Linked DNA regions of Homo sapiens: regions 1, 2, 3, 4, 5 and 7 are each linked to region 6. Evidence: promoter capture Hi-C in 16 types of primary human blood cells and fetal thymus (Javierre and others, 2016). All regions are on one chromosome and are shown on one strand. Each heading gives the region's core, a stretch centred on a gene start or on the middle of the fragment in contact. The rest is flanking DNA. Distances are from core to core; before and after follow the strand shown.

Region 1 (2,828 bases), core at 329-2,828, 1.8 Mb before region 6:
GACTAGAGGCCACTCTTGTTGCCATCTTGATTTTGGTGGGTTTTGGTCAGCTTCTTTACTGCAACCTGTTTTATCAGCAAGATCTTTATGACCTGTGTCTTGTGCCAACTGCCTATTTCATCCTGTGACTTACAATGCCTAACTTCCTGGGAATGCAGCCCAGTAGGTCTCAGCCTTATTTTACCTAGCCCCCATTCAAAATGGAGTCATTCTGGTTTGAACACCTCTGACAATAGGACAGATCTGGAATGAGCCATGCCTGGGTACAGAGTCACATCCACAACAATGAAAGTTGTAGATATCTGCAAGGACTCATCGTGGGACCAAGGATTCAGGGGCTCATTCTTTCTCCTCTCTCTGTGTGCTGGTTGCCTCAGGAGTAGAATGTCCCATGCTATGCATGGGGTCTGCAACCATCATGCCAGGGCATGATGAATCGTAGGTGGCAAAACAACAGAAGGCTCTGTGAGCACCCAGGAGGGTGCAGTGCTGAAGAGTCTTCTGCTTGGTATAGGAAGAAAGGAACGTGTTTCCCAATCTTGCCTTTATTTTGAGTAGTTGGACCAGAGGGATTGCAGCTGGGCCAAACTCCATGTTCCATTGGCTATCAGGGTCAGCAGGCAGGCCAGGGGCCCAGACAGGCCAGTGGCTCCCAGAATTCAAGTTTAATTTCTCCTCCCACCTGTGTCCTGAGCTCCCCTTACTGGTTCCCTTGGACCACTGCATCTACTTAAGCCAGCATTTATTATGTTGTTATCATAAATGCCTCTTACACCTGAGACTTATAAATGTGACAAGCTCTTATTGTGAGATAGTAATCCATCTTTTTTCCCCATGAAATAATAATTCTAACGGGTGGTGATAGTACTTTTCCTTTCATTTTGAAGTGGAGAAGCTGGAGCTAAGTCATTAAGGACTTGACCCTGGACCCCACAGCCTTTTCTCCACAAAGCACAAAGCAGAGTGATGGTCCCAGGGATCCCACACAGCTCTAAGCTGGGGGCACTCACTGCTGGGCCACTAGTGACTCCCATTTTCTATCCTGGCTGACCCTCGCTATTGAAGAAGATCTGAGTCCTGCAGAAGGACAGCAAGGAGAAAAACAAGACACAGAACGGGACAGAGAAGAATAGAAAGCTGACTCAGATGAATTTTGTGATGCCAATGAGTCCTACTGCTGTTACCACCCCTTTTTCCACCACACCCTTCAGAGCAGTTATAGAACCACAAGCAACCCATAAATAGCAAAAGAAGTAACATCAGCTAGGAAGGCTTAAGGACTCCCAAGGGAGTTGGTGGCAAAAGTAGAAAGATCTCAAATCAGAGTCTGTGAACTGAACCTCTGCAGGCTTCCTGTTTTTAGATACTCTGTGTTGGGGTCACATGATAGTTTACAGGGTTATTAATTGGTTCCTTCTTTTTATTGCTGTAAAAGAAGGATATTTTCTTCCTACGTTTCCCCCTCCTTTACCGGAGAGGCGGAGTGCAAATGATATGAACAACGTCACTAGTTTTCTCCTAAATCTTATGAGCCCCGCCTCCCACAGTAGTTTCACTTCTCAGTTTAATCCGGTCTGAGTTAACTTCCTGACCCAGGAAGTGGCAGCAACAGAGGGGACTAGCAGCGAATATGTAAGTGTCTGAGCAGTGAAGGTTACGGAAAAGGTCCAGGCTAAGGTTTTCTCAGTGGATATGTGAGTGTGTACTGATGGCAAGTGGGGTGGGGAATATATTTCGTGACAGCAGGGCCCCTCCAACTCTGAAAATGGTCAGGACTTTCTTTGTTTTACAGCTCTCACCTCTTTCCTGCTCTTTCTTTCACCAGACTTTACACCAAATCTCAGAAGATTCAGAACTTAGATGAGTGGGGCCCAGGACAGGAACCCTGGAGCCTTGGAAGGAGGGGAGCCCCATCTCCCCAGAAGAGCAGTGACCCCAGCAGAGAGGGGCCTGGTGTATCACTGGAGGAAATAGCCTGCCAAGGAATACACGTCTTCAGAAGAAATTCTGTGTGGCTTCAAGAGACTGATCAAATTGTGAGAGGAAAACAGCCTACCCGGTAATTGTAGTTAAATTACTGTTTTTTATTCTAGGCACTCTTCAAACTTCCTCCTGACTCTGCCCCTGTCCTAGAGGAGCTCCCAGGAGTAGGGGTGTGGGGGCGGGCGGGGGGGAGGGATCGGGGGTACAGGGAGAGCCCAGCTAGGTTCTCAGAAGAGGCAGGCTTTTTCGCTCCTGGTCACTCCTCTGTTGCCTATCCCTGGCCTCCCCCATCTTCTTTCTGCCTTCCCTACCTCCTTGGGTCTGCAAACTCTTTATGTTGCAATCACTCTGAACATGTCTCTTGAGATAGGTCCTGTCCTGGAGAAGAGATAGTAAAAGTAAACTCCCCAGTTCTGCAGGAGCTCTGATCCCATAGAAATAACTGCTCCTCAGGAGCAAACCCTCTGCTCTGCAGCCTTCTTTCCAATTCTTATTCCCTCAGTTTAGGGAGAGGGCACAAAAAGGATAAACCGGTTCTTCTGGTTGTTCTGGTTGCCTTGATTGCTTCCATTATCCTCCTGGTTGGGTCTCTAGCAAGACGTTATTAGCCAGGGAAGTCCCACTTAGGCACCCCTCTCTGCAGAAGAGGTATTCACTATTCTCCTTTCTCTTTCTTTTGCCTATTATACCTCTGCTCCTGAAAGCAAAAACAACAACAACAAAAACACAAACAAAAAACAACCGACCTTATTAACCAGTGTTGGTTGTTGTTCTTTGTGGGGGATGGGGGGGGTCGAGGTGGAGTCAAATTTTATTGTCATGATGGTGTAGGAGCCAAGGGAACA
Region 2 (2,813 bases), core at 97-2,596, 1.8 Mb before region 6:
GTTCAATTTCAGTGCAATTTCTAGCTCCCAGTTATACCCTGACAGACACACCTTTAAATCTGAAGAGGCAATGGGAGGGAACCTGTAACCAGAGCTAGGCCAGAGCTGGGACTGTGGAGGAAGAGCTGCCCACCAAGCAGGGGGGTGATGCAGGGAATAAGTACACTAACCTCTCTCTCCTTTGCCATCTACATTCCTGCTGGGCTGATCACTGGCCAAATCCAGCTGTTGCAAGAGGGCAGGGCTGCCCAGCTAATGCTATCTGTAGAAGCTGGGCTTCTGGGGCACAGAGCAAGTCAGAGACAGGCAGAACAGGGATGTGGGTTTGGACCAAACACTGAATAAACCAGATCAAGGATTCTTCTATCAAGACAAGTTTATATACTTGCAGCTTGATCCCATTGTTTCCCTTAGATAACTGTGCACTTGTTTTTGTCTGCCCTCTTTCCTGTGTCTACACTCTTCCTGTCTTATTCTATTTACACATAGCTCAGTCTTTTCCAATTAAAAAAAAAAAAAAAAAGCTTTCCCTCTCCCAAATCTCCATGCAGCTGCTGACTTCTCTCTTCCAAAGCCACACTGTGGGAGAGTCAGTTACACCTCCTGACCTCTGACAGGTGCAACACACTATAGTGAGGCTTCTGCCCTTGGTATTCCTCTGGCTCCATTATTTACAAGGTCACTAATGACTTCCTATTTCTAAATCCAGAGTGCCTTTTTAGTTATCTTCCTTGCCTTCTTGGCATCTCTAGATAACAATACTTGTCTCATTCTAACTTTTGTCTCTCCTTACAGCTCTTTCATTCATAATTCATTGTTATTCAGTTGGAGCCTTGATGGTGTTAGGGAGAAGCAGCATTCTGTAGTCAAAGTGTTAAGCCTCAGTTTATTAGCATGCCTATATCTTGGGGCTGGGACCGTCACAAGTGTTTATAATGATACAACTCCTCCTCCTCCTCCTTCTCCTCCTCCTCTTCCTCAAGTGTTTATAATGATACAACTCCTCCTCCTCCTTCTCCTCCTCCTCTTCCTCAAGTGTTTATAATGATACAACTCCTCCTCCTCCTCCTTCTCCTCCTCTTCCTCAAGTATTTATAATGATACAACTCCTCTTCCTCCTTCTCCTCCTCCTCAGACCTTTGCTCCTTTCCTGGCTGCACCATTTCCAATTTATTTTCATGAAGCTCTGATCCCTGTTGACTAATTTTCTTCCCTTAAGTGAGACAGAAAGCCTAGATGAGGCTGCAGTGGGAAGAATTACCTTCTCCCAGCTGGGATAAGACTCTGGCAAAATGTTTTCCCCTTGAGAGTAGGCCTTTGTTTTGAAGAAGGTTCTGGGGTGTATTTCATAATAATTCTTCTCTCCCTGCCAAAGCCACAAGAGGATCCTTCTCAGATCTTCACTGCAGGAACCTGGTGGGCTTTCTGATGCCCACAAAAGTGTGGGAGCTTCTCACTCTCATGGGCATTCACAGTTGGCCTCCAGCTTTTTGTCAGAGTTACCAATTTAAATGTTCTCAAATGTGATACTGTCTCAACTTCCAGGACATCACACACTCATGATTTTCTACTATCCTGACATTTGCAGTCTTTTTAGCAGATCTCCCTCCCTCTCCCTGCACCATGGGTATTGGTCATCTCAGGATCTGTCCCAGGCTTTCTACTCTTCATGCCCTTTGAGACAACACATGATCTGACCTGCCCTTTCAGGAAGAAATGTTCTGTCTACCTACTTGCTCCAGTTAAAAACCCTAGTGTCATCTTTGACCCTTCTCATCCCTACATCTAATCTGTTGATTCTACCTCCTAATTTTCTCTCAAACGCATCTATTTTTCTTCAATTTCAGTGCTACTCTCTTGCTCTAATTGTACATCATCTTTTTTAGAATTACTGTGACATTTTCTTGCCTCCAGTTCTGCCTCAGTCCATCCACTTCACAGCTAAATTTTGGATGTACACTTTTGAACTATTACTGTAGCAAAAGTAATATGTAATAACTGTAATGCAGAAATATAAAATATGCAATATAAAAGAAATACATGCATAAATGATCCCAACACTAAGGAAACAATATTGATCAATAATTAAATAATTGGTGGATAGTGAATGACAACATAGAGCAAAGTGTTCAGTAGGTTTTAAAAGCTGTGGGTTCAATAAATGCTCATGAAGCTTGTTCAGGGGCTTGCAAAATATGTAATTTGAATTTTTAAAGAAAAGGAATTTCAGATAAGAAAAAACATACATAACATGAAACAATACTTGTGGTGGTTTCAGGGAGGTCATGTTCTCACATTCAGGTGCCAAGGCCACCGTACATCCGGACACTGAGGCCACGGACTTGGTCTGCAACCTCCATGACAGCCTTGTAGATTTGAAACCGAACTCCAAGGAGCAGTTGTGCTGTGAGTTCCAGAGTTTGGGGACAGAGGAAACACCATTCTTTGGAAGTCTAACTTCCTTAAGAGGTGTCCCTTAGACATCTAGTGTCCGGTGTTATGGAGGTCCTTGTGCTCTGAGGAAGGAGCCCCTTGTTGATTGATGGAGCAAAATTTTTTTAAACAAGGAACTGTACCCGTATCTGGGCATGAAGCCAGAGAAATCCCTGAGGGCAGGGCCAAGGCTCTCAAAGATTTTCAGGGAGATTCCCAGCCTTTTTAAGTCTCGCCTATTCTTTTTTTTTTCTCTAACTGGCCATTTTGTATATATGGAGGTTATTGATTTTTTTGCTTTTATATCCTGATATTTTAATAACTGTTCATTTTTTAGTTATTTGAATTATCTACATTGATTATTTGAATGTTCTTTTTTT
Region 3 (2,700 bases), core at 81-2,580, 1.7 Mb before region 6:
AGCACCATCATAGCTCACTGTATCCTTAAACGCCTGGGTGCAGGGACTAAGGGAGCGTGCCAACCATGCTTGACTAATTTACTTTTTTGTAAAACCAGTAGTCTCCAACCTTTTTGACACAAGAGACCGTTTTGTGTAAGACAATTATACCACGGACCAGGGGGTGCAGGGGCTGGGAGCAATGATTTCCGGACTAAAACTGCTCCAACCTCAGATCATCAGGCATTAGATTGTCACAAGGAGCCTGAAACCTAGATCCCTTGCATGTGCCATTCACAATACAGTTTGAGCTTATGAGAATCTATCTAATGCTGCAGCTAACCTGACAGGCGGTGGAGCTCAGTTGGTTAATGTTCGCTCACCCCTCAGCTGTGCGGCTCAATTCATAACGTGCCATGGACAGGGACCGGTTACCGGTCGGTGGCCGGGGAAATGAGGACCCCTGGTATAGATGGTAGTCTGGCTATGTTGCCCAGGATGGTCTTGAAGCCTGGCCTGAATTAATTCTCCAATCTCAAGCCTTTTCAACTCAGCTGCATCACAACTTAAACCTATAGATAACTGTCACAGAAACTTGTTTCCAGTGTTACGCCATCTTAAAATAATGTGGGTGGCTCTTAAAAGAGCCTTTGGGTTCTTTCCAAATTGGCCTCCCGGAAAGCTCTTTACTTCTTAGATGTGGCCTTTCTAACATTAACTTCATGATGTTGGGTCAATTTTGACTTCGAAGCCCTTGCCTTCACTGGGCTCTTCTGCTGTTGCTTACCCTTGGCTCCTTTAGCCTTTCTCCCGCTCCTAACAGTTTTAGGAGTTGTCGCTCTCGGCTTCTTGGCTCTCTTATTGGTTTTAGCAGTCTTTGGTGACTTGGAGTCCCTGGATAAAACCAGCTTCTTGGTCTTGGCAGAAACTGACTTTTTAGCCTTGCTTCTGGTAGATTTAGGAATCACCTTCTTACTAAGCTTAAAGGAACCGGAAGCACCAGTACCCCTGGTTTGCACCAGGATTCCCTTGTTCACTAAGCTCTTGAGGGACAGTTTGATGCGGCTGTTATTCTTCTCTACGTCGTAGCCAGCAGCGGCCAATGCCTTCTTGAGCGCAACCAAAGACATACCTACTCGTTCCTGTGACACTGAAAGGGCCTCGGTGATCAACTTGGACACAGAGAGGTTCGGCACTTTGCGACTTGCACTTATCAAGCCAGCCGGCTTCCTCCCTCGCTTCTTGGTTGGAAGTTTCTCCATAGCGGCTACACCAGCACTGGCAGAAGCTGCAGGCACGGTTTCAGACATAACAACAGAGAAACGCAAGATGTAATAACCAGCGAAAAGCATGAAACACCCGGGCGGCCTCGGGGCCTTATATAGGGTAGGGCGCGCTGTGATTGGTGCATCACCTAGGCACCGCCCCCGCCCCTTGGAGGAGGAGTATTTGTGTTTGTTTTACCCGGAAAAGTTGAGTATAACAAAACCCCTCTTTACAGAATCTCCCAGGGTCTAGTGCTGAATAATCTGCGGAAATTCATATTTGACATGACTTTTCTCTTTTTAATGAAAAATGACCCTGGATGCCAAAACTATTCGAGAAAGCCCTCGATTTTCAATCAAATTCACGGAGAGGAACAAAACTTCCCCTTTTCCTTGTAAATTAATAAGTAATCTTTGGCAGAAGACTTATTTCATCTCTTCAGAGTGGTCTTCCAAATGGATAGCTTCAAATCGGTAGAGGAAAGAAATTATTCACGCCATGATTTTTATTTAAAATTATTTATATATGTGAGGGAAGTAACACAGATCTCTTAGCTGTCTAATTGCGGAGTCAGAAGATGCTTATAGAATTGTCAAAAGACTGCAGAGGATGTCTTTATTTAGGCATGTGCAATCTAATAAATCATAATCCACAGGAACATGGGTTGTCTGTAATTAAAGGTGCTCCCAAGTCCCTGTAGCTTTATAGAGGACTCTCAAGGATGGGGTAATATCAAGATCTCACACATTATGTAAGATTGGCCATAATCAGGCCACTCTCATGACCGGTGTCCTCAACTGAGTTTTGCTTCTGGTTTCATTAATTGAAGTCCCCTCTATCCCCCTGCCCACCCCTACATCCCCAGATAAACAGACACAGTCCCTCCCCTAAATTAACTATAAAACATGAGGTAGGAACCCTAGACTCAAGAACCTACTAGAAACTACAGACCCCATGTCTAACAAGACTGGGCGGGTTGGCTGGGCGCAGTGATTCATGCCTGTAATTACAGCACTTCGGAAGGCTGGAGGCCAGGAGTTCAAGACTAGGTTGGCCTGGTCCCTACTGAAAAAAAAAAAAATTAGCTGGGTGTGGTGGCACATGCCTGCAGTCCCAGCTTCTGGGTAGACTGAAGAGGATCACTTAGAGCCCAGGAGCTTGAGGTCGCAGCTACTGCACTCCAGCCTGGGCAGACCCTCATCTCTGAATTGCTTAATTAATTAACTGAGCTGGCAGATTTGGCTGCATAGCTGTGGGGAAAGGGTTGTTGGAATAATGTCCAGTGTGCTCCCCTGAGCTTCTACTGGAACAGGTCTTTGTGAGAGGCCTGGAGATAAGAGCTTGCTCACAAAGGCTGAGGCCTTTCTGGGATGCTGAATGAGTTTAGTGTGGCCAGAGCATAGGGTCTCAGCAAAGGAAAACTCCATAAGGGCCATTTGTGAAGATCCCCAAATA
Region 4 (2,745 bases), core at 234-2,733, 1.7 Mb before region 6:
CAGTGGCGTGATCTCAGTTCACTGCAACCTCCACCTCCCGGGTTCAAGCAATTCTCCTGCCTCAGCCTCCTGAGTAGCTGGGACTACAGGCACCATGCCCGGCTAGGATAACATTTTTTGTTTTTAGTAGAGATGGGGTTTCACCATGTTGGCCAGAGTAGTCTAGAACTCCTGACCTCAAGTGATCTGCCCGCCTCATCCTCCCGAAGTGCTGAGATTACAGGTGTGAGGTACAGCATCTGGCCTCATGCTGAGATTTCTTTCATTACCAGTTCAAACACCTTTCACTTTTCAAGGCACAAGGAGAGGAATTCCATGTGTTGACACTGGGAGGAAGGGTACAGACCTACTTAAAAGATTCAAAACTTCTATGACAGTAAAAGAAATGTATATCAAGTTCCTTAGGGCTGCCGTAACAAAGTACTATCAACTGGGTGGCTTAGAACAAAAGAAATTTATTCTCTCACAGTTACGTAGGCCAGTTGAGATCAAGGTATTATCAGGGCCAAGATCCCTCTGTAGCCTCTGGGGAAGGATTCTTTCTTGCCTGTTTCCACTTCTAGCAGCTTCCTGTGTTTGGTTTGTGGCAGCATAACTCCAATCTCTGCCTCCATCTCTACCTGGCCATCATCCCTCTGTGTCTGTGAGGACCCCAGTCATTGGTTGGAGGACTCACCCTATTCCACTATAATCTCTTCTTAACCAGTGAACTCACCGTATTCCAGATAAGGTCAGGTTCACAGCTACTGAGGGTTAGGACAGAGTATCTTTTGGGGAGATGCAATTCATCCCATAAGTGGGTGGAAAAGGATGATTAACAAGTGGTATGTGGGGATGTATTGTTTTGCATCTACGTAGCTCTCACCCCATTTCTTTCCACAACACACATTTGTCACTCTATTCTTTATTAGGTTTACAGAGAAAAGTAGATCTTCAACCACTTTCCTGGGATGTGGATACAGCTCTTTTTTTGGAGACAGGGTCTCATTCTGTCACCTAGACTGGTGTGCAGTAGCACTATCATGGCTGACTACAGCCTCAATGTCCCAGGCTTAAGTGATCTTCCCAACCTCCTGAGTGGCTGGGACCACAAGTGTGTGCCACCACACCTGACTAATTTTATTTTTTAATTGTTTTGTGAAGACAGCATCTCCCTATGTTTCCCAGGCTGGTCTTGAATTCCTGGGCTCAAGCCATCCTCCTGCCTCGGCCTCCCAAAGTGCTGGGATTACAGGCAAGAGCCTCCATGCCTGGCCTTCAACTCTTGACCTTATGAACACAGCCCTATACCAGTTCCCTTCATGCATGTGCCTATAAGCTAAACCCTTTCCCAAGTGTACATGAAAATCTGAACCCCAACAAATATGGCCTAATTCTAAATCTGACTTTCCCAGGAGTAATTTTTGTCATTTCCAGCTTACCAGCCTTTGTGAGTGTTGAATTTCAGCATTTCTGTTTGCTTGCAGCAGAAGGTGGAGCCAGGATAGGGTGGCTCAAGATTAGAGTTTCTTCCTTAACAGTTCAGTCAACTTTTTAATCTTGGATTTATAGCTTCCTACCTGCTCTCTTAAAGGTGAAATGATCTATTCACCTTCAGACCATTTGCCCTCGGGGTCTCACTGAGCAATCTATGGCTTAAGTCTTCTAAGTCTCTTAATGGCCAAATACAATGGACAATTTTCAGGTATATCTGACACCATTTCTCTGCAGCCTTTGGCACCTATAACCACTCCATGGCTTCCACAATGTGATTGGTCATTTCTTTTTTGTTTATATGACAAGTTTTTATTCTTCTTCTGCCTGTTAAATGCGCCTGACCCCCAGTGTTCTGATTTTCACTATTTTTCTTAAAAAAAAAAGTTTAAATGAAAAAAGTTTCTTATGAAAATATTAAAACATATACAAAAATAGAATAGACATTGATAATAGATCCTAAAATTCCTAGGGAAATTCAGCAGACTGAGAATAGCTAATATAGTCTTCCAAAAAAAGATCAAATTTGAAGTTGAGAAACTTCTTGAATTCAATTTACTAAAAAGCTATAGTAATCAAGACAGTGTAGTCCTGACATAAAGATAGGATTATAGTCTGGGTGTGGTGGCTCATGCCTGTAATCCCAGCACTTTGGGAGGCTGAGGTGGGCAGATCACCTGAGGTCAGGAGTTCCAGACCAGCCTGACCAACATGGTGAAACCCCGTCTCTACTAAAAATACAAAAATTAACCAGGCATGGTGGCAGGTACCTGTAATCCCAGCTGCTTGGGAGGCTGAGGCAGGAGAATTGCTTGAACCTGGGAGGAGGAGCCAGTGGCCGGGATTGGGCCACTGCACTCCAACCTGGGCAATAGAGTGAGGCTCTGTCAAAAAAAAAAAAAGATAGGATTATAGATTATAGCATAATGGGATAAAATTGAGACTCCAGAAATAAACTCTCACATTTATGGTAGATTGATTTTTGATAAGGGTGCCAAAACACTTCAATGAAAAAAGAGTCTTCTCAACAAGTGATGGTGGAACAACTGAATAACCACATTTTTGTTCTATCTGGGGCCCTGATTCAAAAACCCAGGCAAAGATGGAGAGAAATCAGAACTCTCATACACTGCTGATAGGAGGATAAAATGCTTACTTTGGAAAAGAATGTGGCAATTCCTCAAAAGGTTAAACAGTGTTACCATATGACCCAGCAAACCCACTTCTAGATATATAACCAAAAGAAATCAAAACATAAGTCTACAAAAAAAC
Region 5 (2,700 bases), core at 175-2,674, 1.8 Mb before region 6:
AACTCCCTAGGTCCACGATTGCCTTGGGTGGAGGAAGGGCTATTGCCGCTGTTGTGGCTGTTTTTTAAATGCATTCCTTCGTTGCCACAGGAATGAGAAATTAACAGCAGAGGAATGTAGGACAAAGGTACCTGCACGCACTCTCCTCCCAGGGCTGGATGTTGCCACTACCTCCAGGAGACATCAACTTGACTACCAACAACATGGAAAGCGTCCGAAATCCCAGACATTAATATAAAGAGAAAAGAGGCAAAACTTTTAAGTCACAGTAAAGCAAAAAACACAGAATAAGCAACGTCTTCCACCATCCAATTAAATACAGAATGAAAGTCATGTACTAGAAGAACGGACCAACCCGGGAGCAGGGCGGGACTTTTGAAAATTTTTTAGTCCAATCCGGACATCCCTTTAGACTAAGAAACTGGCTCTTGTTTTGCGGTCTTTTCTGCCGTTCACAGGCCTGGGGCGGGACTGCCATCCCAAAACCATCCGCCAGCGAGAAAAGCCTCCGGTCAGGGACCTAGAAGCCGCAATAAAGGTTTAAATGCTGTAACCTCACCACGGCCACTCTCCAACCCCGTCACCCAATTCGTCTGATACCTCAGTAACTCCCATACGACTAACCTTAAGTAACAGGGCAGAACAAGAAAAGGCAGATAGTAAAGAAATTATCCAGCTCTTTTATTGAGATCAGTGGTGGCTCTGAAAAGAGCCTTTTGGGTTTTAGAAGTAGGCGTTCGCCTATTTCTTCTTGGGCGCCGCCTTCTTAGGCTTGACAACCTTGGGCTTAGCGGCCTTGGGCTTCACAGCCTTAGCAGCACTTTTGGCAGCTTTCTTGGGCTTCGCAACCTTGGCCTTCTTTGGGCTCTTAGCCACTTTCTTGGTTACAGTGGCCGCGGCCGGCTTCTTCGCTTTCTTCGGTGTTTTCTTAGCGCTCTTCTTCGGAGTTGCGCCGCCAGCCGCCTTCTTGGGCTTCTTGGCTGCCCCAACTGGCTTCTTAGGTTTGGTTCCGCCCGCCTTTTTAACCTTGGGCTTGGCTTCCCCGGAGGCTGCCTTCTTGTTGAGTTTAAAGGAGCCAGAAGCACCGGTGCCTTTCGTTTGCACCAGAGTGCCCTTGCTCACCAGGCTCTTGAGACCAAGTTTGATACGGCTGTTGTTTTTCTCCACATCATAGCCGGCGGCAGCCAACGCTTTTTTCAGAGCAGCCAGAGAAACTCCGCTACGCTCTTTAGAGGCGGCCACAGCCTTGGTGATGAGCTCTGACACCGGGGGACCAGACGCCTTACGAGGCGTACCCCCAGCCTTTTTGGCCGCCTTCTTCTTTACAGGGGCCTTCTCCGCAGGAGGCGCGGCAGCGGGAGCGGCAGGAGCAGTCTCGGACATGTTGAGAATCAAAAACTCGGGTACAAGTGGCAAAGCGCCGATGAAGCAGCGCCTGGGCAGGGCCGCTGTATATATAGAGCGCAGGCGCGCTCTGATTGGTGCTCTGGTCGCCCGCCTGGCTGGCAGGCTCTGAGCCGCTGCGCTGCTCCCAAGTTGTGTTTGTTCCACCTCACAAAAGGGGAAAAATATTAAAATTCCCCGCACCAAATCACTTGGGTTTGGTCAGGAAAGGATCTCAGAAGCCTCGGGCTTCATGCTCTTCATTTATTTTTTCCACAAACACAAAAACAACGCGTCCAGGCGTCCCCAATTCCCCCAACTCCGAAGGAAGTCTGGGGCAGTCAGAGACCACTTTCTGTTTTTCTTATAAATTACCTGTTCGCTCCTTTGCCCCTGAAGGTTCTTTTTCCCAGGGGTGGTTGGGCACATGCTTCCCTTATTTTTGAAGAAAAAAGCGAAATGGTTTCCACCTAAATTTTCATGATAATTCTGTTTCTTCACAAGGGAAGTAACACAGGTCCTCTGTGAATTCTTCGTGCAGTCGCACAGGAACTGTGGACTGGGACAAGGATTCCACGGCCAGTCCAAAGCAATTAGGGCGGGATGGGAGGGGGTTCATGAGCCTTGCTAGGGTCCGGGGTGGTGGGGGGCTACAGACTTAAATCTTTGATTTGAAGACATTGAAACTATCAAATCCCTCTTTTCATAGATGGGGGTGGGGCATCCTTTTCACTTCTCTACAGGCGAGAAATTGGGCTCTTTTTAAAGAGCTCTGAGGTCCCCCTCTGAGTTGTGTAAGGCAGGAGGTCTGGCCCTCAAGATAGAGATCATAAAGGAACAAGGGAGAGCCCTTAAGCCTGCAAAAAAGCCAATAGATTTGGCAGTTAGAGGCACTGAGATAATATGTTTTCAAAGAAAACAAGCATTTTTTATTTATTTATTTTTGTACGCTGCAATATAGAAATGAATTTCAGCCCATGAAAATTGTAGGTTACTTTCAGTAACCATACCTTACGCAAGTTACCATATAGGACAATCTCCAGTTGGGAACTCAAATATATCTTTTGAGTTGCAAATAAAGCAACTGACTTTAATAAAACACACTCTTGACTTTTAAGATGAACAATGTATTTGAAATTTATTTTTTTAAATAGCAAAATTTAACACAGAAAGACAAGAAAAGTACCAGAACATGTAATTTATTATAAGATCTGTTGTTGATGAGCTGAAAAATCACCTCTTCTCATCCCCTCTGAAACTATTCTGTTCTAAAGTTTGCTACTTTAAGGTTCACTACTTCTTATTTTACTCTCCGAC
Region 6 (3,055 bases), core at 450-2,949:
CGCCGGTGTACCTGGCGGCGGTGCTGGAGTACCTGACCGCCGAGATCCTGGAGCTGGCTGGCAACGCGGCCCGCGACAACAAGAAGACTCGCATCATCCCGCGTCACCTCCAGCTGGCCATCCGCAACGATGAGGAGCTCAACAAGCTTCTGGGCAAAGTCACCATCGCACAGGGTGGCGTCCTGCCCAACATCCAGGCCGTGCTACTGCCCAAGAAGACCGAGAGCCACCACAAGGCGAAGGGCAAGTAGAAGCCTGGATTAGTTTGCAGCAACTCAATCCCAAAGGAACCAAAGGCTCTTTTCAGAGCCACCTACAATTTTGTGGAAGAACTGAGCACTATGTTTAATGTAATTTCTCGTCTTTGCCTACTTCTAAACCACTCCAAAGGTTACGTAGATCAGTCTTCGGTGTCTTGGTTAGGTAGTGACAATCTCGTTAGCTTTATAAAAAGCCTGGATAACATTAAAAGTATTAAACACGCCTTCATCTTAAGCTTAGTGGAAGAAAATTTAGTTTTTCCTAAGCTGGCATTATCCAAGTATGTTGAATTCTGTATGGTTCACCGTCGGGTTTTACTTTTAGTCTGTTGAAGCAAACATGTCTGCTTTGGGGCCAGATGTTTTCTGGGTCTTGGTAAATAACAAACCGGGCATTCGACGTTCAATCCAAATCTAGATCAACGACTTGGATTCTTCATTTCTGAGAAATATCTCTCGAATCTGTATAATTAATTGCATTTGAACATTAATGATTGAGTTGAGAATAATTATTAGACTAATTAGAACAGTTACTTATGGTGCCAGGTAGTTCTCTTTGAAGCATTTTCTGAAAATTCATTGAAATTAAAATTTCCCGAGCTTTCCCACCCCCAGCCACACAAATTGATTTCTTAGTACAGAGATGACTTAATTTGTTTCAGCATGGTAAATTCCACTTTTAAAATATCTGACTTGATGTTTTTAATCTGAATCAGATCTGGATGTACGAATGGAATAGATTCTTAAAAGAAAATGAATTACATTTCTAGAGTATTGGAAAAATAAGCTGCAATGGAATTACTTTAATCTAAAAGTGAAAAGTTCACATAAAGTTGTTTCTTTGACATTTTTTGGCCTTGAATTTCTCACATGCGAACCAGCTTTTCTTGGTTATAAAAATAGAAGTTTTTTAAATTTAAGTGGTCAAAAGATAGAAAATTGAGGGGACAGGTGTATAAGGCTGTCCTGTCCAGTATTGCAGCCACTAGCCAATTGTGGATAGTGATCATTGGAAATTCCATAGCATGAATTTTATATAAAATACACATTGCATTTGGAAAAGTCAGTGCCAAAAAGTGTAAAATACCTAACAATTTTAATTTCGATAACATTGAAATATGTTGGCTATATTGGATTAAGCAAAATATTAAAAATTAATTTTTCCTTGTTTTGTTACAATGTTCTCCTAGATAAGTGTAAATTACTTATATTGCTCTCATTTCCACTGGAAATCGCTAGTATAGTGAACAACTGTATAGCGAAAATAGAAAATAAAATATGGAGACCATGAACTGCTAAGTCTGTCAGAGGAATAGGTGAACAACAAAAATTTGAGTCCTTCGCCAATCCGGTTACTGTTGGGTAGGCCTTCAGCATACTTTTGTCCAATCAGCTTCAGACTCTCACTATAAATAAGCGGCTAGCTTTCTCTTTCTCCTGAAGTGAATCTAGCTCTGAAGGCATGGCGCGTACGAAGCAGACTGCTCGCAAGTCCACCGGCGGCAAGGCTCCGCGCAAGCAGCTGGCCACCAAGGCGGCTCGGAAGAGCGCTCCGGCCACCGGCGGTGTCAAGAAGCCCCATCGCTATCGGCCTGGTACAGTGGCTCTCCGCGAGATTCGCCGCTACCAGAAGTCCACCGAGCTGCTGATCAGAAAGCTGCCTTTTCAGCGTCTGGTGCGTGAGATCGCGCAGGACTTCAAGACCGACTTGCGCTTCCAGAGCTCCGCGGTGATGGCGCTGCAAGAGGCATGCGAGGCCTACCTGGTGGGGCTCTTTGAGGACACCAACCTGTGCGCCATCCACGCCAAGCGGGTGACTATCATGCCCAAGGACATCCAGCTCGCACGTCGTATCCGCGGCGAGAGGGCTTGAGTCTCAAGGACTCACTGATTACATACCCAAAGGCTCTTTTCAGAGCCACCCACATGCGCGCTGAAAAGATCTGTTTCTCTCAGGAATTCTTCCTGGTACTTGTTTTGCCTGTAGTAGATAGGGCCCATTTCCAGACGTTATACAATCTGTTTCGTAAGACTCAGCCTATCCCTTTTTGAATGCTAATTTTGGGAGTCTTAACATCTAATAATGTCCGGCATTTTTCCGTAAGCATTGAGTGTAGCCAAAAGTTCCTTCGTGTATTGCTCTCCCATCTCCGCAGCCCGGTTTTGACCGGATGGTGCTTCTAATTTTCTGCTAACCTGTACTGTGGTGTGTGTATATTTCTTGCCAACACGCCAGAAATAAAACTAAGGTTGTACTGAAGTTGGAAAAATTCAGGTTAATGTAGCTCATGCTGGCTAAAGTGAAACGTTCTCTCCCCGCCCCCCGTTCCTAAGCAGTGTTAAGTTTTCTTTGAATTTTTTCAAGCCGGATTTTGGGCCTGCTTAAACCACTTAAATGTAGTTAATGACAGATGGTTTGAGGTTTAAAAGTCTTCTGGAGAAAGCCCGCCAGAGAACATTCCCTTTGAAGCCCCATGTAAAAATACGTGTGGGAGAGAAAGTGTTTTCTCTGACTTCTGCTGACAGTGGCTAAAACTCTGAACTGTCAGGAGTATTCAAAATAAGACTGCCTTGTAGGTAAGCCTGTGGTAGTTTTTTTGAGCACAGGATAAAATACTTGAGTCTTTGCTTAAATGTTACTTTCTCAATGAGGCTTTGTATGACTAAATAAAATCTGTATAATCCCCACCTATTTTTTTCACCCTAGAATTTGTCACTATATGCTGTACCAGAGTTTGCTGATGTATTGCTTGTGTGTTCTAAAATACAGGCTCATGAGAGGAGGAACTTTTGTT
Region 7 (2,891 bases), core at 34-2,533, 1.6 Mb before region 6:
AACCTGAAGTTAAAAACTGGTTAGCTTATGCTAAGCTGCCATTTGAAAGGTCTCCTCCAGCATCTGAATTAAGGGAAACAATGTTTTGAAGCAGTCACAAAACTTTTCTGATGCATTAGATCTGAGGTAGGACCTGATAATTTGTACTTCTAAATTATGCAGGTGATGCTGATGCTGCTGGTCCGGAGACCACTTTGGAGAGTTTTACTTTAAAGGAAATGAAACTGCCCTAAAATGCTAATACTAAATAGCCACACAAAGCCGGAAAAAAGCAAAGAATTTCAAACCGAAGATGAGAGGTCCTGAAAAATAACAGCGGTCATCCTACTCCCGGTGCGGCTATGCGGCCATGAAAAGGAGTCTTGGGGCCGGTCGTGCCCCTCCACGCAGGCTCCCTCATAGGGTCATCCCATCAACCCTCGCCAAAAACGCCGGCCCCCTCATAGGGCCGTCCGGCCACGCCCCTCCGTGCCCTAACCACAGAGCCACACGTTACGCCGCCGCCCCGTTACGCCCATCCGGCTCCCGCATAGGGCGTCACGTACGTTTAACGTCGGCCCGGCGCGCGCGTCCGGGAGGTTGCCCGTAGGCCGCTAACTGGTGGTTCCCAGTCCCCGCCGACTCGGCCTCTTTCTTCTGCGGCCACCAGATCGCGGGATATCGGAGACTTCGAACAATCCGCTGGAGTCCTTTACAGTTTAAAAACAGAGGACCGGCCGGGCGCGGTGGCTCACGCCTGTAATCCCAGCACTTTGGGAGGCCGAGGCGGGCGGATCACGAGTTCAGGAGATAGAGACCATCCTGGCTAACACCGTGAGACCCCGTCCCTATCAAAAGTACAAAAAAATTAGCCGGGTGTGGTGGCACGCGCCTGTAGTCCCAGCTACTCAGGAGGCTGAGGCAGAAGAATCGCTAGAACCAGGGAGGCGGAGGTTGCAGTGACCGAGATCGCGCCGCTGCACTCCAGCCTAGGCGACAGAGCGAGACTGCGTCTCAAAACAAAAAAAACGGAGGATCGAAAATTTTGAAGACTGAGAGCAAGGCAACAATCTTCCCTTGACCTTTTTGCTCCTCTCACAAGGGTTTTTCAGACGGCTGAAACCAACGAAAAGAGTGAGGAAGCAGGCAGAAAATTTCAGCTTTAGTCTCTCAGCATCCTCCTGCTTTCTTCTCGGGGAGCTGGCACTTCCCCCTTCTCTAGTAGCTGTAAATACGCCTCCCAACTCCAAGGAGACCTTTCTTGCATCTCCCTTACTGTTCTCACGCCTGTAGGGCTCTTCGTGTGAGGATTCAGTGTATGTATGTATGTATATGAATGTGTGCGAATAATTATTTCCTAATTGAGTTTTTTTTTAAAAAAATCATCTTCCGGTACACGCAGTGCCGTACTCCATTAAACAGCAGGCACGGTGTCTAGGGTCCGCAGTTCTTTTGGAGGCTCATGAAAATATTTTAATTTCTTCTAAAGTCAGAAGGAAAAAAATGAACATTTAAGTCGAAGAAGATGTTACATATTAATCTTCATATGACTTTAATTTTTTTTTTTTTTTTTTTGAAACGGAGTCTCGCTCTGTCCCCCAGGCTGGAGTACAGTGGCGCAGTCTCGGCTCACTGCAAGCTCTGCCTCCCGGGTTCACGCCATTCTCCTGCCTCAGCTTCCCGAGTAGCTGGGACTACAGTCACCACGCCCGACTAAGTTTTTTTGTATTTTTTAGTAGAGACGGGGTTTCACCGTGTTAGCCAGGATGGTCTCGATCTCCTGACCTCGTGATCCGCCCGCCTCGGCCTCCCAAAGTGCTGGGATTACAGGCGTGAGCCACAACGCCTGGCCTATGCCCACTAATTCCAATTCTTATTTGATCTAATTGTTTATAGATTCTTGTGAACTTTTACCTTGACAATTATGTTATTTTCAAAGATAATCATCTTTTCCTATTGAATCCTTGCTCTTCTGACTGCCTGTTCCTATCTCATGGTATTGGCCAAACCCTGTGATGCCGTGTTGAATAGGAGTACTTTCTCACCACACTTGTCTTCCTTCCGCCTCTATGGGAATCCTTCCAAAACGGCACCATTAAGTGTTATACTCGCTGTAGCTCCTCCTTATGAAGTTCTCTTCTCATTGTAGTCTGTTAAGTGTTTATGATTAAAGAGTGTTATATTTTGTTAAATGCTTTCGCAGTATCTTTGGAGATGATCATGTTTTTTCTTTATTAATCTCTTTTTTATTTTATTTATTTTATTTTATTTTATTTTATTTTTTATTATTTTAGTTTTTATTTTGAGATGGAATCTCACTCTGTCTCCCAGGCTGGAGTGCAGTGCCCTGATCTAAGCTCATTACAACCTCTACCTCCCAGGTTCAAGCGATTCTTCTGCCTCACTTTCCCAAGTAACAGGGACTACAGGTGCGTGCCACCACATCTGGCTAAGTTTTGTATTATCAGAAGAAGATAGGCCGCCATTGGCCAGGCTGGCCTTGAACTCCTGACATTAAGTGATCCACCTGCCTCAGCCTCCTAAAGTGCTAGGAATACAGGCGTGAGCCACTGCTCTGGGCCTTCCTTTATTAATTTCTTAAACTGGCAGATTTAGAATACTAAACTTCCTTCTATTCTTAGAATAAACCCTATATAATCAGCTATTTATTTAAATAACATGGTCTCTGCAATTTCTCCTGGTTTCCATTTTTTCTCATAATAGGCATTTTTTTCTAAAAAACAAAAATGAATGTTCATTAGTGAGACAAAACTATAATTTTGTTTTTTTCTTCTTTCTCTCTTCCTTCCTTTTTAAAATTTGTATTCTCCAGTTTTGCTAATAATGTTATACAATTTTACAAGAAAAAAGTGAGTAGGAGAGCTGTTTTTCTATAGTAACAGATTCTGTGA

What was found. Contacts are between HindIII fragments. The CHiCAGO score rates a contact against its expected background, and 5 or more counts as called.
Region 1: a contact is called between the fragment with the promoter of TRIM38 here and the fragment with the promoter of H3C10 in region 6, in 8 of 17 cell types (non-activated CD4 T cells, neutrophils, total CD4 T cells and 5 more). The highest score is 15.1, in non-activated CD4 T cells.
Region 2: a fragment that was not itself captured here is called in contact with the fragment with the promoter of H3C10 in region 6 in 2 of 17 cell types (neutrophils and non-activated CD4 T cells); the score reaches 9.5 in neutrophils.
Region 3: a contact is called between the fragment with the promoter of H1-6 here and the fragment with the promoter of H3C10 in region 6, in 14 of 17 cell types (monocytes, M0 macrophages, total CD4 T cells and 11 more). The highest score is 18.2, in monocytes.
Region 4: a contact is called between a fragment that was not itself captured here and the fragment with the promoter of H3C10 in region 6, in 2 of 17 cell types (neutrophils and monocytes). The highest score is 7.4, in neutrophils.
Region 5: a contact is called between the fragment with the promoter of H1-2 here and the fragment with the promoter of H3C10 in region 6, in 17 of 17 cell types (non-activated CD4 T cells, total B cells, neutrophils and 14 more). The highest score is 20.7, in non-activated CD4 T cells.
Region 7: a contact is called between the fragment with the promoter of H2BC6-AS1 here and the fragment with the promoter of H3C10 in region 6, in 16 of 17 cell types (erythroblasts, total B cells, monocytes and 13 more). The highest score is 25.3, in erythroblasts.

The regions. Positions count from the first base shown.
Region 1 is chr6:25,961,224-25,964,051 of GRCh38, forward strand. It overlaps TRIM38 (tripartite motif containing 38), which reads left to right and starts at 1,579. Exons shown (of 8, transcript NM_006355.5): 1 at 1,579-1,632; 2 at 1,826-2,059. The HindIII fragment of the contact is 6,907 bases long and covers 1-2,828 here.
Region 2 is chr6:26,006,070-26,008,882 of GRCh38, forward strand. No RefSeq gene overlaps it. Among named protein-coding and RNA genes, the nearest start is that of H1-1, 10 kb to the right of the region's middle. The HindIII fragment of the contact is 1,649 bases long and covers 523-2,171 here.
Region 3 is chr6:26,106,805-26,109,504 of GRCh38, forward strand. It overlaps H1-6 (H1.6 linker histone, cluster member), which reads right to left and starts at 1,331. Exons shown (of 1, transcript NM_005323.4): 1 at 608-1,331. The coding sequence starts at 1,289. The coding sequence ends at 666. The HindIII fragment of the contact is 5,524 bases long and covers 958-2,700 here.
Region 4 is chr6:26,082,164-26,084,908 of GRCh38, forward strand. No RefSeq gene overlaps it. Among named protein-coding and RNA genes, the nearest start is that of HFE, 3.9 kb to the right of the region's middle. The HindIII fragment of the contact is 4,963 bases long and covers 1-2,745 here.
Region 5 is chr6:26,055,046-26,057,745 of GRCh38, forward strand. It overlaps H1-2 (H1.2 linker histone, cluster member), which reads right to left and starts at 1,425. Exons shown (of 1, transcript NM_005319.4): 1 at 695-1,425. The coding sequence starts at 1,383. The coding sequence ends at 742. RefSeq lists enhancers at 1-527, 938-987, 1,078-1,477 and a silencer at 378-447. The HindIII fragment of the contact is 9,556 bases long and covers 1-2,700 here.
Region 6 is chr6:27,808,352-27,811,406 of GRCh38, forward strand. H3C10 (H3 clustered histone 10) reads left to right here and starts at 1,700. Exons shown (of 1, transcript NM_003536.3): 1 at 1,700-2,185. The coding sequence starts at 1,723. The coding sequence ends at 2,133. H2AC13 (H2A clustered histone 13) reads left to right here. Exons shown (of 1, transcript NM_003509.3): 1 at 1-316. The coding sequence ends at 251. RefSeq lists enhancers at 1-165, 84-682, 1,366-2,037, 1,654-1,943, 2,038-2,709. The HindIII fragment of the contact is 5,605 bases long and covers 495-3,055 here.
Region 7 is chr6:26,171,490-26,174,380 of GRCh38, forward strand. It overlaps H2BC6-AS1 (H2BC6 antisense RNA 1), which reads right to left and starts at 1,284. Exons shown (of 3, transcript NR_186648.1): 1 at 546-1,284. RefSeq lists an enhancer at 358-1,250. The HindIII fragment of the contact is 22,011 bases long and covers 1-2,891 here.